Regions from separate parts of the Homo sapiens genome. Here all the other regions are linked to region 1. The links are contacts of gene promoters, found by promoter capture Hi-C in human tissues and cell types (Jung and others, 2019). All regions are on one chromosome and are shown on one strand. Each heading gives the region's core, a stretch centred on a gene start or on the middle of the fragment in contact. The rest is flanking DNA. Distances are from core to core; before and after follow the strand shown. Region 1 holds the start of RAPSN (receptor associated protein of the synapse). Region 2 overlaps CELF1 (CUGBP Elav-like family member 1). Region 3 overlaps CELF1 (CUGBP Elav-like family member 1). Region 4 holds the start of PTPMT1 (protein tyrosine phosphatase mitochondrial 1).

The links. The method cuts DNA at HindIII sites, captures the fragments that hold promoters and counts their contacts. A contact is called where the count stands out against the background at its distance.
Region 2: a fragment that was not itself captured here is called in contact with the fragment with the promoter of RAPSN in region 1 in 2 of the 25 tissues and cell types used here (dorsolateral prefrontal cortex and mesenchymal stem cells).
Region 3: a fragment that was not itself captured here is called in contact with the fragment with the promoter of RAPSN in region 1 in 2 of the 25 tissues and cell types used here (bladder and liver).
Region 4: the fragment with the promoter of PTPMT1 here is called in contact with the fragment with the promoter of RAPSN in region 1 in 1 of the 25 tissues and cell types used here (mesenchymal stem cells).

Annotation. Positions count from the first base shown.
Region 1 is chr11:47,447,886-47,451,080 of GRCh38, forward strand. RAPSN (receptor associated protein of the synapse) reads right to left here and starts at 1,251. Exons shown (of 8, transcript NM_005055.5): 1 at 888-1,251; 2 at 1-265. The coding sequence starts at 1,079. The HindIII fragment of the contact is 7,804 bases long and covers 1-3,195 here.
Region 2 is chr11:47,534,745-47,537,777 of GRCh38, forward strand. The region is part of intron 1 of CELF1 (CUGBP Elav-like family member 1); the gene reads right to left. Among named protein-coding and RNA genes, the nearest start is that of CELF1, 17 kb to the right of the region's middle. The HindIII fragment of the contact is 4,129 bases long and covers 1-3,033 here.
Region 3 is chr11:47,516,958-47,519,969 of GRCh38, forward strand. All of the region lies in intron 1 of CELF1 (CUGBP Elav-like family member 1), which reads right to left. Among named protein-coding and RNA genes, the nearest start is that of CELF1, 35 kb to the right of the region's middle. The HindIII fragment of the contact is 3,912 bases long and covers 1-3,012 here.
Region 4 is chr11:47,564,298-47,567,348 of GRCh38, forward strand. PTPMT1 (protein tyrosine phosphatase mitochondrial 1) reads left to right here and starts at 1,302. Exons shown (of 4, transcript NM_175732.3): 1 at 1,302-1,499; 2 at 1,609-1,689. The coding sequence starts at 1,326. It also overlaps a transcript of CELF1 not described here. RefSeq lists enhancers at 813-1,313, 1,314-1,814 and silencers at 1,124-1,603, 1,734-1,813. The HindIII fragment of the contact is 19,699 bases long and covers 1-3,051 here.

The DNA of each region.
Region 1 (3,195 bases), core at 1-2,500:
CATAGCGCAGGGCCTTCTCGAAGCTCTCCAGGGCCTTCTGGAAGACGCTGAGGCCCAGGAAGGCATTGCCCATGCTCAGGCTGACCTGGCCTCCGAGCTGGGCACCTGCCCTGGTACCAGGCAGCCCAAGGCAGGTCTTGCAGTAGGAGATGGTCTTGTGAAACTCGCACAGCTTCTCGTTGCTGCGTGCCAGGTTCAGGTAGCTCTCCAGGAGGAAGTCGGCATCCTCCAGCTCCCGGGCCGTGTCGATCTGGACCACAGCGAACTGCACACAGCGACGGTGGGCAGGTGGTGCTCAGCCTGGACTCTGAGCCTTGGACCCCAGCCTGCACTGCAGGCTCAGACCTGGAGGCCCCACACCCACCCCCCAGCCTCACACCCAAAGCAGCAGATCCCAAAGCTTCTTTTCAGACCCAGAGCTTCTACCCGCCAGCCTCAGCTACCTTCCCTACACCCCAGCCTCACCTCCCAAGCTCAGGCTTGCAGCCTTCACCTTCTATCCCAAGCCTCAGATCTGGAGTCTCCACCACCCACCCACCCCCAGCCGCAACCCTGGAGCCCACACCCCGCCAGGCTCAGACACAGAACACCAGACAGGAAGGCTGAAACCTACAATGGGCTTGAGACCCACAAACCCTCGACCCTGAGGCTGGAGAACCTCAGTCTCAGAGACTCGGGCACCACAGTTCAAGGCCACAGGCCTGAATCTGATGCCAAGACTCAGTATCTAAGACCCAGGGCCTTAGATATAAATTCAGAGCCTCGGGCCCTGGCTGCCAGCCTGTGGGACACAGGGGAGCCCGAGGAGGCCGAGAGGGGACTGGGGAGCCTGGGAGACATCCGGCCCCAGCCTGACCCTCGAACGCCCCCAGGCCGGGTACACCCACCTTCAGCATCTCCTTGTAGCGGCCCATCTCCGAGTGGGCTGTGACCAGGCAGCCCAGCACGCGGAAGCGCCCCATGAGGTCCGAGCTCTTCTCCAGCACCTTTGTCCACACCTGCAATGCCTTCTCTGTCTGGTTGGACTGGTACAGCTGGAGCCCCTTCTCGATCTGCTGCTTGGTCTGGTCCTGCCCCATCCTCCCCAAGCCCTGTGTCCCACGTGGGGTGATCCCTGGTGGCTCCGTGCCTCTAGGCACTCATGGGGCAGGAATCACAGTGCCAGCTGCCCCCCGAAACGTGGGAACAAAAGCAGCGTCGGGTGGGAGCCGGAATGGGGCCTGGATGGAGAGCAGGCGCCACCCTGGGAACAAAGCTGGTTCAGCCCGTCTGCAGCTGTCGCTGCCAGTTGGGGCCACATGGCCTCTGAGGAATGTCAGCAGCAAGGTCACGTGGGCCTCTGCTGCACCCACCCGCGAGCTGGGACGTGGCTTCCCTGAGCATACAGGCACCTTGCCACCTGGGCACCCCCTTGGGCGTCCCTTAGGCACCTCTGACACTGACCCTGACCGCCCTGGCAGCACGGGCCCTCCCAGCAGCCTTGCCAAGGGGCCAGCTCCAGCAAGTGGGCAGGCCTTGGGCTAGAGGTGCTCGGGGGAAGGAGAGCGAGGCTGGACCTGCAGGTCCGGGGAAGCCAGGTGAGCGCCCAGCCCTGCTTCTTCCCCATCAAGACACCCCTGACCGCAGCATCCCCTGGCTCTGTTCCTGAAATTCACTGAGCACCGTGGGTCACTCATCCAGGCCCAGGCTGACACCATTCACCAACTCTCACCTTAGAGAGTCTGGGAAAGACCTCCAGCTGGTGAGAGGCCTGAGCTCTAGCCTGGCTTCCTTCGAACTCTCAGTGGGACCCTAGCCAAGTGACCTGGCACCGTGGACTGAAGAGAGGAATGGTACCTGGCTCACTGGACTGCTATGAGAACTCAATGACGAAAGAGTTGAGAAGGACTTAGGACAGTGCCCGGCACAGGAAACCCCGCATGTGCTGCAAGAGGCTATTTTGCTCCATGGCAAATCCCCACCCGGGCCAGAACCCAGCCCTTGAAGTTTCAATGTCTCACTTCCAATCCCAACCCCGGGCTGAAAGGGTCCTCATAATGAGATTTAACACCAGATACTGTGGAGAAGGGCAAGGTCTTATGTAGTATTGGGGCCCCCGCTAGCAGGCCAGCTCATCCAGCCCCCCTTTCTCCTCTCTCTGCATGCCAGCCTTCTTCCTGCCCCAGGGCAAAAGTTTATCCTTTCTGGCTGGGCAATTCAGTGGTTTTTAGTATATTCACAGAGATGCACATTAATTGCCACTAATTCCAGAACATTTTAACCACCCCAAAAAGGAGACGCACACCCATCAGCAGTTACACCACTCCATTCCCCACCTTGATATGACTGAATCATGTCCCCCCGCAACCAAACGCATATGTTTAAGTCCTAACACTCAGTATCTCATAAGGTGACTGTCTTTGGAGACAGGGTCTTTAAAGGGTGATTAAGGTAAAATGAAGTCACATTGTACCTCATCCAGTTAAGACTGGTATCCCCCCCCCCTTTTTTTTGAGACAGGGTCTCACTCTGTCACCTAGGCTGGAGTGCAGTGGTGCAGTCACAGCTCACTGCAACCTCTACCTCCTAGGCTCAAGTGACCCTCCCACCTCAGTCTCCTGGGTAGCTGAGACCACAGCTGTCTAGTTTTTGTAGAGATGGGTTTCACCATGTTGCCCAGGCTGGTCTTGAACTCCTGGAGGTGGAGGTTTCAGTGAGCCGTGATTGTGCCACTGCACTCCAGCCTGAGCACCAGAGCAAGACCTTGTCTCAAAAAATAAATAAACAATAAATTTTTATTTTTAAAAATTATTTTTGAGACGGAGTTTTGCTCTTGTTGCATAGGCTGGAGTGCAGTGGCACAATCTCAGCTCACTGAGACTTCTACCTCCCGGGTTCAAGCAATTCTCCTGCCTCAGCCTCCCAAGTAGCTGGGATGACAGGTGTATGCCACCACGCCTGGCTAAGTTTTTGTATTTAGTAGAGACGGGGTTTCACCATGTTGGTCAGGCTGGTCTTGAACTTCTGACCTCAGTTGATCCACCTGCCTCAGAGCCTCCCGAAGTATTGGGGTTATAGGCGTGAGCCACCATGCCTGACCACAATACTTTTTTTTTTTTTTGAGACACTTTCCCTCTGTCACCCAGGCTGGAGTGTGGTGGTGCCATCTTGGCTCACTGCAACCTTCACCTCCCAGGTTCAAGTGATTCTCCTGCC
Region 2 (3,033 bases), core at 1-2,500, 87 kb after region 1:
AATAAAATAAGCCAAGAGAAGTATAAGTTCAATCTCCAAGTATGCCTCCAAAACTGTAGTGTGTAGATAAATGTGATGTTAAATTACGTTTAGGGAGATGAACTGCCACTCCCAGCTAAATGTGTGTTGTCACTCAGTTCCCTGGAGACCCATTCTGTTAGAAGATATCTTAAGAAAACAGATCATTTACAAGTCTGATCTGTGGATCTGTTTTTTTCAGAAGTGGAACAGTCAGAATTAGAAAAAAAAAAATTTTTTTCCCTAAGTTGGAAGCTTTCTGGAAAAGGGTTAAGTCTTTCCATAGATCTAGCTTAGCCCCAGAGCAAACTTATACCAGACAAATGAACATTAACAAAAACAGCACTTGATTTCACAGTAATAATCTAGAACTTCAGCTACCCTACGCCTGATCCATAATAGTTTGAGCCAGAAAAGTACCTGGCACAAATTTCAAGAGTATCCCTCACACTAATAACTACTGAAACCTAAATATAAATTCCATTTAAATGTGTTGAAAACCAAACTCAGAACCAATTCATACAACAAATTCACAAACCAAAAGAAAAAAAAAATGGTTCTATGGAGATAAGATATACCATTAACTACCGTAGGCAATAGTTATTAAGATACTCCACAAACATATTATGTCTTGGGCTGGGCGAGATGGCTCACACCTGTAATCCCAGCACTTTGGGAGGCCGAGGCAGGCGGATCAGTTGAGTTCAGGAGTTCGAGACCAGCCTGACCAACATGGAGAAACTCCGTCTCTACTAAAAATAGAAAATTAGCCGGGCATGGTGGGGCATGCCTGTAATCCCAGCTACTCAGGAGGCTGAGGCAGGAGAATCGCTTGAACCCGGGGAGGTGGAGGTTGCAGTGAGCCAAGGTTGCACCACTGCACTCCAGCCTGGGCAACAAGAGCGAAACCCCATCTCAAAAAAAAAAAAAAAATAAATCATGTCTTGTTTTGCTATATTTACTCACCTAAGCTTTCCTGTAGCATGCCCACAAGTTTTTTTGTTTTTGTTTTTTTCTTGAGATAGGGTCTTGCTCTGTCGCCCAGGCTGAAGTGCAGTGGTGCAATCTCGGCTCACTGCAATCTCCACCTCCTGGGTTCAAGCGAGCCTCCTGCCTCAGCCTCCCAAGTAGCTGGGATTACAGGCGTGTGCCACCGTGCCCAGCTAATTTTTTCTGTTTTTAGTACAGACAGGGTTTCACTGTGTTAGCCAGGATGGTCTTGATCTCCTGACCTTGTGATCCGCCCGCCTCAGCCTCCCAAGGTGCTGGGATTATAGGCATGAGCCACTGCACCCAGCCCAAGAGTTTGTTTTTAAATAGTTTCTGGCCAGCATGGTGGCTCAAGCCTGCAATCCCAGCACTTTGGGAGGCTGAGGCAGGTGAATCACTTGAGGCCAAGAGTTTGAGACCAGCCTAGCCAACATGGCAAAATCTCATCTCTACTAAAAATAGAAAAATTAGCTGGGCATGGTGCCAACGGCCTGTAGTAGCTCTTCTGGAGACTGAGGCACGAGAATTACTTGAACCCGGGAGGCGGAGGTTGCAGTGAGCCAACATTGCACCACTGTACTCCATCGTGGGCGACAAGGCGAGATTGTCATAAATAAATAGATAGATAGATAGACAGACTGATAGATAGTTTCCCAATGCTATCTATAACCCAAATTAGCTCAGTAAAGAGGTTTGCAAAGCTTTTTAAAAAACTGCATTTGTAGGCCGGGTGTGGTGGCTCATGCCTGTAATCTCAGCACTTTGGGAGGCCAAGGTGAGCAGATTACCTGAGGTCAGGTGGAGTTGGAGGTCAGCCTAGCCAACATGGCGAAAACCCGTCACTACTAAAAAAAATACAAAAATTACCTGGGCGTGGTGGTGCACACCTGTAATCCCAGCTACTCAGAAGGCTGAGGCAGTTACTTGAACCTGGGAAGCGGGGGCTGCAGAGCTGAGAACACACCACTGCACTCCAGCCTGCGTGACAGAGTGAGACTCCATTTCAAAAAATAATAATAAAAAATAAAAATTGCACTTGTAAATGTATGCAGAGACTATTAAACAGAAATAGCACGCAATAAAAACAATGAATATATAATAAACATAATGTCTTTCCATAATTATTTCCCATCAGCTTGAAAGGGGAAGTAGGAAGGACAAGTCCACAGTATAGTTTTGGCACATGAGTTTAATATCAAACAGCCTAGAAACAAAAAGGAGAAAACAGGACATGACAGGAGGCAAACTCTTGGATGCTTTATTCATTTTTACTAGTGGTTTACTATTTCCTTGATTTTATTTGGAAAAGCATGTCTTGGCCCAGAAAGGCAAGAGTGCAGACTGCCAGCAATATCAGATTATCCTTTTCTTATTCTTTGGAGCTACTGAAAACTGAGCCAAAATCAGAGTTGTCTAGGAGCCTTCTGACTGTTCAGGCAATAAAAATTACGAAGTTTCAAGATCAGAGCTCCACAAGGTTTTTACCATACAAATTTTTTTTTTTTTTTTTTTTGGGACAGAGTCTCACTCTGTCGCCCAGGCTAGAGTGCAGTGGCGCCATCTTGGCTCACTGCAGCCTCCACCTCCTGGATTCAAGCAATTCTCCTGCCTCAGCCTCCTGAGTAGCTGAGACTATAGGCACACACCACCACATTCAACAAATTTCTGTTATTTTTAGTAGAGACGGGGTTTCACCATGTTGTCCAGGATGGTCTCGATCTCCTGACCTCGTGATCCACCCGACTCAGTCTCCCAATGTGCTGGGATTACAGGCGTGAGCCACCACACCAGGCCTACAGTACAAACCTTAACCATAATGTCTTTTGATGGAAAGCTGCTTACATTTTTTTTCCAGATAACTCCTTGGAGCTTTTAAAGTACTCCATCTTCAGAAGACAATGACTTAAATTCACAGAATTAAAATGTTAAGTCTTTTTCCTATTACTAATCCTTAATACTGAACTGTTCCAAAACATAAAATTAAAGTGCCATTTGACTAGACATGGAGTAGTCAACAAATAATTA
Region 3 (3,012 bases), core at 256-2,755, 69 kb after region 1:
CTCATCAATATTGAAAACTGAGCTGAGCACAGTGGCTCACACTTATAATCTCAGCACTTTGGGAGGACTGCTTGAGCCCACAAGTTCCAGACCAGCCCAGGCAATATAGTGAGACTTATCTCTACAAAAAAATTCAAAAATTAGCTGGGTGTGGTGGCACGTGCCTGTAGTCCCAGTTACTTGGGAAGCTGAGGCGGGAGAATCACTTGAGCCCAGGAGGTCGGGCTGCAGTGAACTGTGATCATGCCACTGCACTCCAGCCTGGACAACTGAGAGAGAGCCTGTCTAAAAAAACAAACAGAGAAAAAAAAAAAAAAAAAAAGACATGCCCTTTGAATTCAGCAATCCCAGTTCTAGAAATATAGTTTACAAATAATCTTGTATCTGATGTATACAAAGTATGCAAAGGGGCATTCATAAGAACATTGTTTACATCAGCAAAACCTGAAAACATATGCCCATTAATTGAAGGCTATTAAATACAGTATAACCATACAACAGAACACTATGTAGCTATTAAAGAAAATAAGGCAGCTAACTGATCAAGACGTATTCATATAATAAGAAAGGAATTACACATGGCTTGTATATGAACAGAGTATCTCTGGATGGATAAAGAAATAACTGCTAACAGTAGTTGTAGAGGTGGAACAGTGGTTGAATTGTTTACATGTGAACACGTTACCTATTCTACAGAAATTTTTTTTTTTTTGAGACGAAGTTATGCTCTTGTTGCCCAGGCTAGAGTACAATGGCGCAATATTGGCTCACTGCAACCTCCGCCTCCCGGGTTCAAGCAATTCTACTGCCTCAGCCTCCCGAGCAGCTGGGATTACAGGCACCTGCCACCAAACCCAGCTACTTTTTTGTATTTTTAGTAGAGATGGGGTTTCACCATGTTGGCCAAGCTGGTCTCGAACTCCTGACCTTAGGTGATCGACCTGAAGTGCTAGGATTACAGGCACGAGCCACTGTGCCCGGCCTACTGAAAATTTTTTTAAAGAAAACTTGAGCTTTTGGAGCATGGCAACCTAGCCTGCAGACACCGTATCCCCTTGTCCACTTCCCCCTGCAACCCATAAGTCCATTCCTACCACTTAAAAAAAGGAAAACTCGTGGAACTATAAAGCACAAAGTAAAGAAAAACCTCAACTCATACTCTTTTCCAAAACAGCATTTTGGTTTTGTATTTTTTTCCTGCTTTGCCTGAAACTTCTGTGTGGAAACTGCCATTGTCCAGGTGATCCAGCAGTATATCATAATTACATCACACCATTTTAAATGACCCCAGCAACTCAAATAACGTTCATGCAGCTGGGACCTCATCATGTATGGCCTATTTACAAAGTCTGAAGCTATTTCAATCACTCAGCTGTATAGCTATACATTTTCTTCAATCAACCTTTCCTGCCAAGGCAAAGTGCAACATTAGCTGGATTCCAGTAAAGAAGGCAAGGGACAGGGTGAGATAATATGTCAAAACAAGTTCTATAAATACAGCTTTTGGCTTGTATCTCAAAAAGGAATCAAAAGAGCTTCAAGTTTAAACAGAAAAACCCTACAGTCCCTGCAGTATCTTACTTGAAGGCTCTAGAGAACAGAAGACACCAGGGAACTGGAATCTTATTTCTCACACTGTAATATCTTGTCTCTCTCTCCCTTATCTCAGGGGCAGGTTTAGATGCAATTGCAAGCTTTATCATTCCAACTCTGCATCTCCCCTGCCTCTTTTCTTATCTTACCACCTCTACCCTACCAAACACATCAATTTCCTTCCTCTCTGTGAGGCTGCTCCACCTCTTAGGCAGACAGGCCCAATACACACAACATACAACAGTCTTTCCTTAGCACTAGCCACCTAACTTCTATCATCTCCAAAATCCTTGACCAAGCAGCCAAGAACCCTGCCTTTACCATCTGCCCCAACCTCACCATCAAACACACGGGCACTCATGCGGGATGCTTCCATATGGTCTTGTTTCAGGAGCTTTGCCCTGTTCTGTTGAAAAGCAGGAAACTTTATTTTCTTTCTGTTCTTAAATTCTTAATTCTATAAAACTAGAGAAACCAGAAACTACTTCTGTAGAGACACTTCCTGAGACAGTTAGGTTATAGGCCAGAAAATGCAAATTTTGTACCTCTGCTTCAGCCAATCAGGGAACATGTTCAGCAAAGCTTGATTCACCCTAAAGGACGCACAGCCCTAAGACAAATTCTATTCTATTCTATTATCACTTTTTAAAAAAAGTTACTTTGGCTGGCCTGTAATCCCAGCATTTTGGGAGGCCGAGGCAGGTGGATCACTTGAGGTCAGAGTTCGAGACCAGCCTGGCCAACGGGGTGAAACCCCATCTCTACTACAAATACAAACAAATTAGCCCGGCGTGGAGGCGGGAACCTGTAATCCCAGTTACTTGGGAGGCTGGGGCAGAAGAATCACTTGAACAGGGAGGCACAGGTTGCAGTGAGCTGAGATCACACCACTGCACTCCAGCCTGTGTGACAGAGCGAGACTCCATCTCTAAATAAATAAATAAATAAATAAATAAATAAATAAATAAATAAATAAGGTACTTCAATTATCATGCTTTCATCACTCTGCAATTGTGCTCCTAAAGGTGCTTCTCGCCGGGCGTGGTGGCTCACGCCTATAATCCCAGCACTTGCACTTTGGGAGGCCAAGGCGGGTGGATCACAAGGTCAGGAGATCGAGACCATCCTGGCTAACACGGTGAAACCCCTACTGAAAATAAAAATTAGCTGGGCGTGGTCGTGGGCGCCTGTAGTCCCCGCTACTCGGGAGGCTGAGGCAGGAGAATGGCATGAACCCAGGAGGCGCAGCTTTTAGTGAGCTGAGATCGTGCCACTGCATTCCAGCCTGGGCGACGGAGCCAGACTCCGTCTCAAAAAAAAAAAAAAGGAGTGCTTCTCACATTTAAATACCCACTTAAATCATCTGTCACATCCTTCAAATCACTCCTAAAAAAACTCAACTGTTCCACAAAATTTAAC
Region 4 (3,051 bases), core at 52-2,551, 120 kb after region 1:
TTGAAGCCATCTCACTAAAAATACAAAACTTAGCTGGGCGTGGTGACATGTACCTGTAATCCCAGCTACTCGGGAGGCTGAGGCAGGAGAATTGCTTGAACCTGGGAGGCAGAGGTTGCAGTGTGCTGAGATCACGCCATTGCACTGCAGCTTGGGTGACAATAGTGAAACTCTGTCTCAAAAACAAAAAACAAAAAACAAAAACTCCACCAGATGCTTGGGCCGGGTGCAGTGGCTCATGCCTGTAATGCCAGCACTTTGGGAGGCTGAGGTGGGCGGATCACCTTAGGTTCGAGACCAGCCTGGCTGACAAGGTGAAACCTCGTCTCTACTAAAAACAAAAGTTAGCTGGGTGTGGTGGCATGCACCTGTAATCCCAGCTACTCAGGAGGCTGAGGCAGGAGAATCGTTTGAACCCGGGAGGCGGAGGTTGCAGTGAGCTGAGATCTTGCGACTGCCCTCTAGCCTGGGCAACAGAGTGAGACTCCGTCTCAAAACAAACAAACAAAAAGTAAATAGCTGGCATTACAACCATTCTTCTTACCTTTTTGTAGGTTGCAGGTTTTATATTTGAGCTCTTCATAATATTTTTCTTAAGGATATATTAATATAATGTATATTTTCCTATTTTTTCCTGCTATGTAAACACTGCTGTTTGGTCAGATGAAGGAGGGAGCCCTGCCCTAGGACAGGGGAGGGGAGGAGGAAGGCGACCTCAACCCAGGACCCCTGTTCACCCTGGGATCAGGCCCTCACCCAGGTAGCTCCTCTGTTTGAAAGCTCTAAGCCCTTCCACTGTCCTCTTCAGGGCTACCCCGCCACACAGCCTCTCCTTGTCTTGTCTTCCCTTTGGCGGGGTCACACCCGCACCTGGGTCACTGCCCCCTTCCTCTGGTCGAGGGTTGGGGGGAGTGTCCCCTCCTCCCTCGGCCGGAGTCACAGTTCCACACGCAGGGGTCCTTCCTGCCCCTCTCACCTGGGGTCACAACCCCCCTCCCTCGGAGGAGGGAGGTCACCGGCCACAGGCGGGGGCCTCAGTTTCCCACGCTACAGGGCTCACACGTGTCTGGCCTGCGACGCGCTCTCCCTTCGCCGGGGTCCCAGTTTCCCGCCCAGGAAACCTCGGTCCCTCCTCCGAGGCCGCCGGGCCCTCCTCCAGAGTCCCGCCAGTCCCCCAGAGTCCAGGCCAGTCCCCGCCGTCACCCGGTGCGAGCCCGCGAGAGGCCTAGTGCAGCTGGCAGCCCCGCCCCGGCACCCGCCTGCTCTTCTCGCGGGTCCGGACCGCGAGCGCGGGGGCCGACGGGTCGCCGCTGCGCCGGGCCGGGATGGCGGCCACCGCGCTGCTGGAGGCCGGCCTGGCGCGGGTGCTCTTCTACCCGACGCTGCTCTACACCCTGTTCCGCGGGAAGGTGCCGGGTCGGGCGCACCGGGACTGGTACCACCGCATCGACCCCACCGTGCTGCTGGGCGCGCTGCCGTTGCGGAGCTTGACGCGCCAGGTGAGCCGGGCCGGGGAGCCCGGGCCCCTGCCCCGTCCCCGCCGCTCCGTCCCTGTCGGGCCGCTGGGGTCTCCACCGTCTTTGCTGAGCCACCTCTTTGCCTCGGCAGCTGGTACAGGACGAGAACGTGCGCGGGGTGATCACCATGAACGAGGAGTACGAGACGAGGTTCCTGTGCAACTCTTCACAGGTGAGGGACCGGGCCGAGGGGCAGGCTCGGGGGCCCGCTCCCCCTCGCCCACCGCCCTGAGCCTGGGACGGCTAGAGAAGTGTGGGGGAGGTCACCATGCACCGGAGCCAGGTGTCTCAAGCTGCTTTGCCTCCGGTCTGTGCCTCTAAATGGCACCTGGAGGTAGGCTAGAAGCTGTGAAAGGCGTTTATTTAAAAGTTCAAGTTGGGCCGGGCGCGGGGACTCACGCCTGTAATCCCAGCACTTTGGGAGGCGGGAGGAGGAGGCGGGCAGATCACTTGAGCCCAGGAGTTCCTGACCAGCCTGGGCAACATGGCGAGGCCCCCGTCCCTACAAAAATACAAAAAGTAGCCGGGAGTGGTGGCGTGCGCCTGTACTCCCAGCTACTTGGGAGGCTAAGGCAGGAGAATCACTTTAGCCCGGGAGGTGGAGGTTGCAGTGAGCCGACATCTCGCCATTGCATTCCAGCCCAGCCTTGGGCGACAGGAGTGAAACAATGTCTCAAAAAAAAAAAAAAAAAAAGTGGAAGTTGACAAAGCCTGATTTCTCCTTTGTGAACAAATGTAATGTATTCTTATTTCGGTAACCAAAATCAGAAACTAAAATTGAAAGGCAACTTTCCCATGCCTTCCTGATTTCATTCATTCTTTCTATACTTTGAGCTCTGAGTATGGGTCAGCATTCCCAGTGTTAGGGATTCCAGATGAAGGCCCTGCCAACTGTAAGACGAAAAGCACCCCCTTAACACTCTCCCCTCCCCAGATTTTTCATAAAACTATCCATTGAAAACTGTAGAGTTCATTTGGCTCTGATTTGGGGGAATTTTTAGTCATATATTAGAAATCATGGTGGAACTCCAAAGTTCTCTCATAACAAAGTTTAGGCCTAAAACATAACTTTCATTAAATGTGACTGGCCTGTTTGTGGAATCTTCCACAATGGTTATTAGAAGATGTTATCTACAATCTGAGCTATTTGATTTTTTTTTAATGTTGCCCTATCTTTATAGCGTTTGGCATCTAATAGCACTAAACAATTATCTTTCTCATTTGTTTTACTGATATAGCATGATGAAGATACTATTATTTCAACCTGAGGATTTTTTTGAAACCTTGAAAATATTTGTGACTTGGCCAGGCGTGGTGGCTCTCACACCTGTAATCCCAGCACTTTGGGAGGCTGAGGTGGGTGGATCACCTGAGGTCAGGAGTTTGAGATCAGCCTGGCCAAAATGGTGAAACCCCGTCTGTACTAAAATCACACAAAAAAATTAGCCGGGCGTGGTGGCAGGCGCCTGTAATCCTAGCTACTTGGGAGGCTGAGGCAGGAGAATCGCTTGAACCCGGGAGGCAGAAGTTGCAG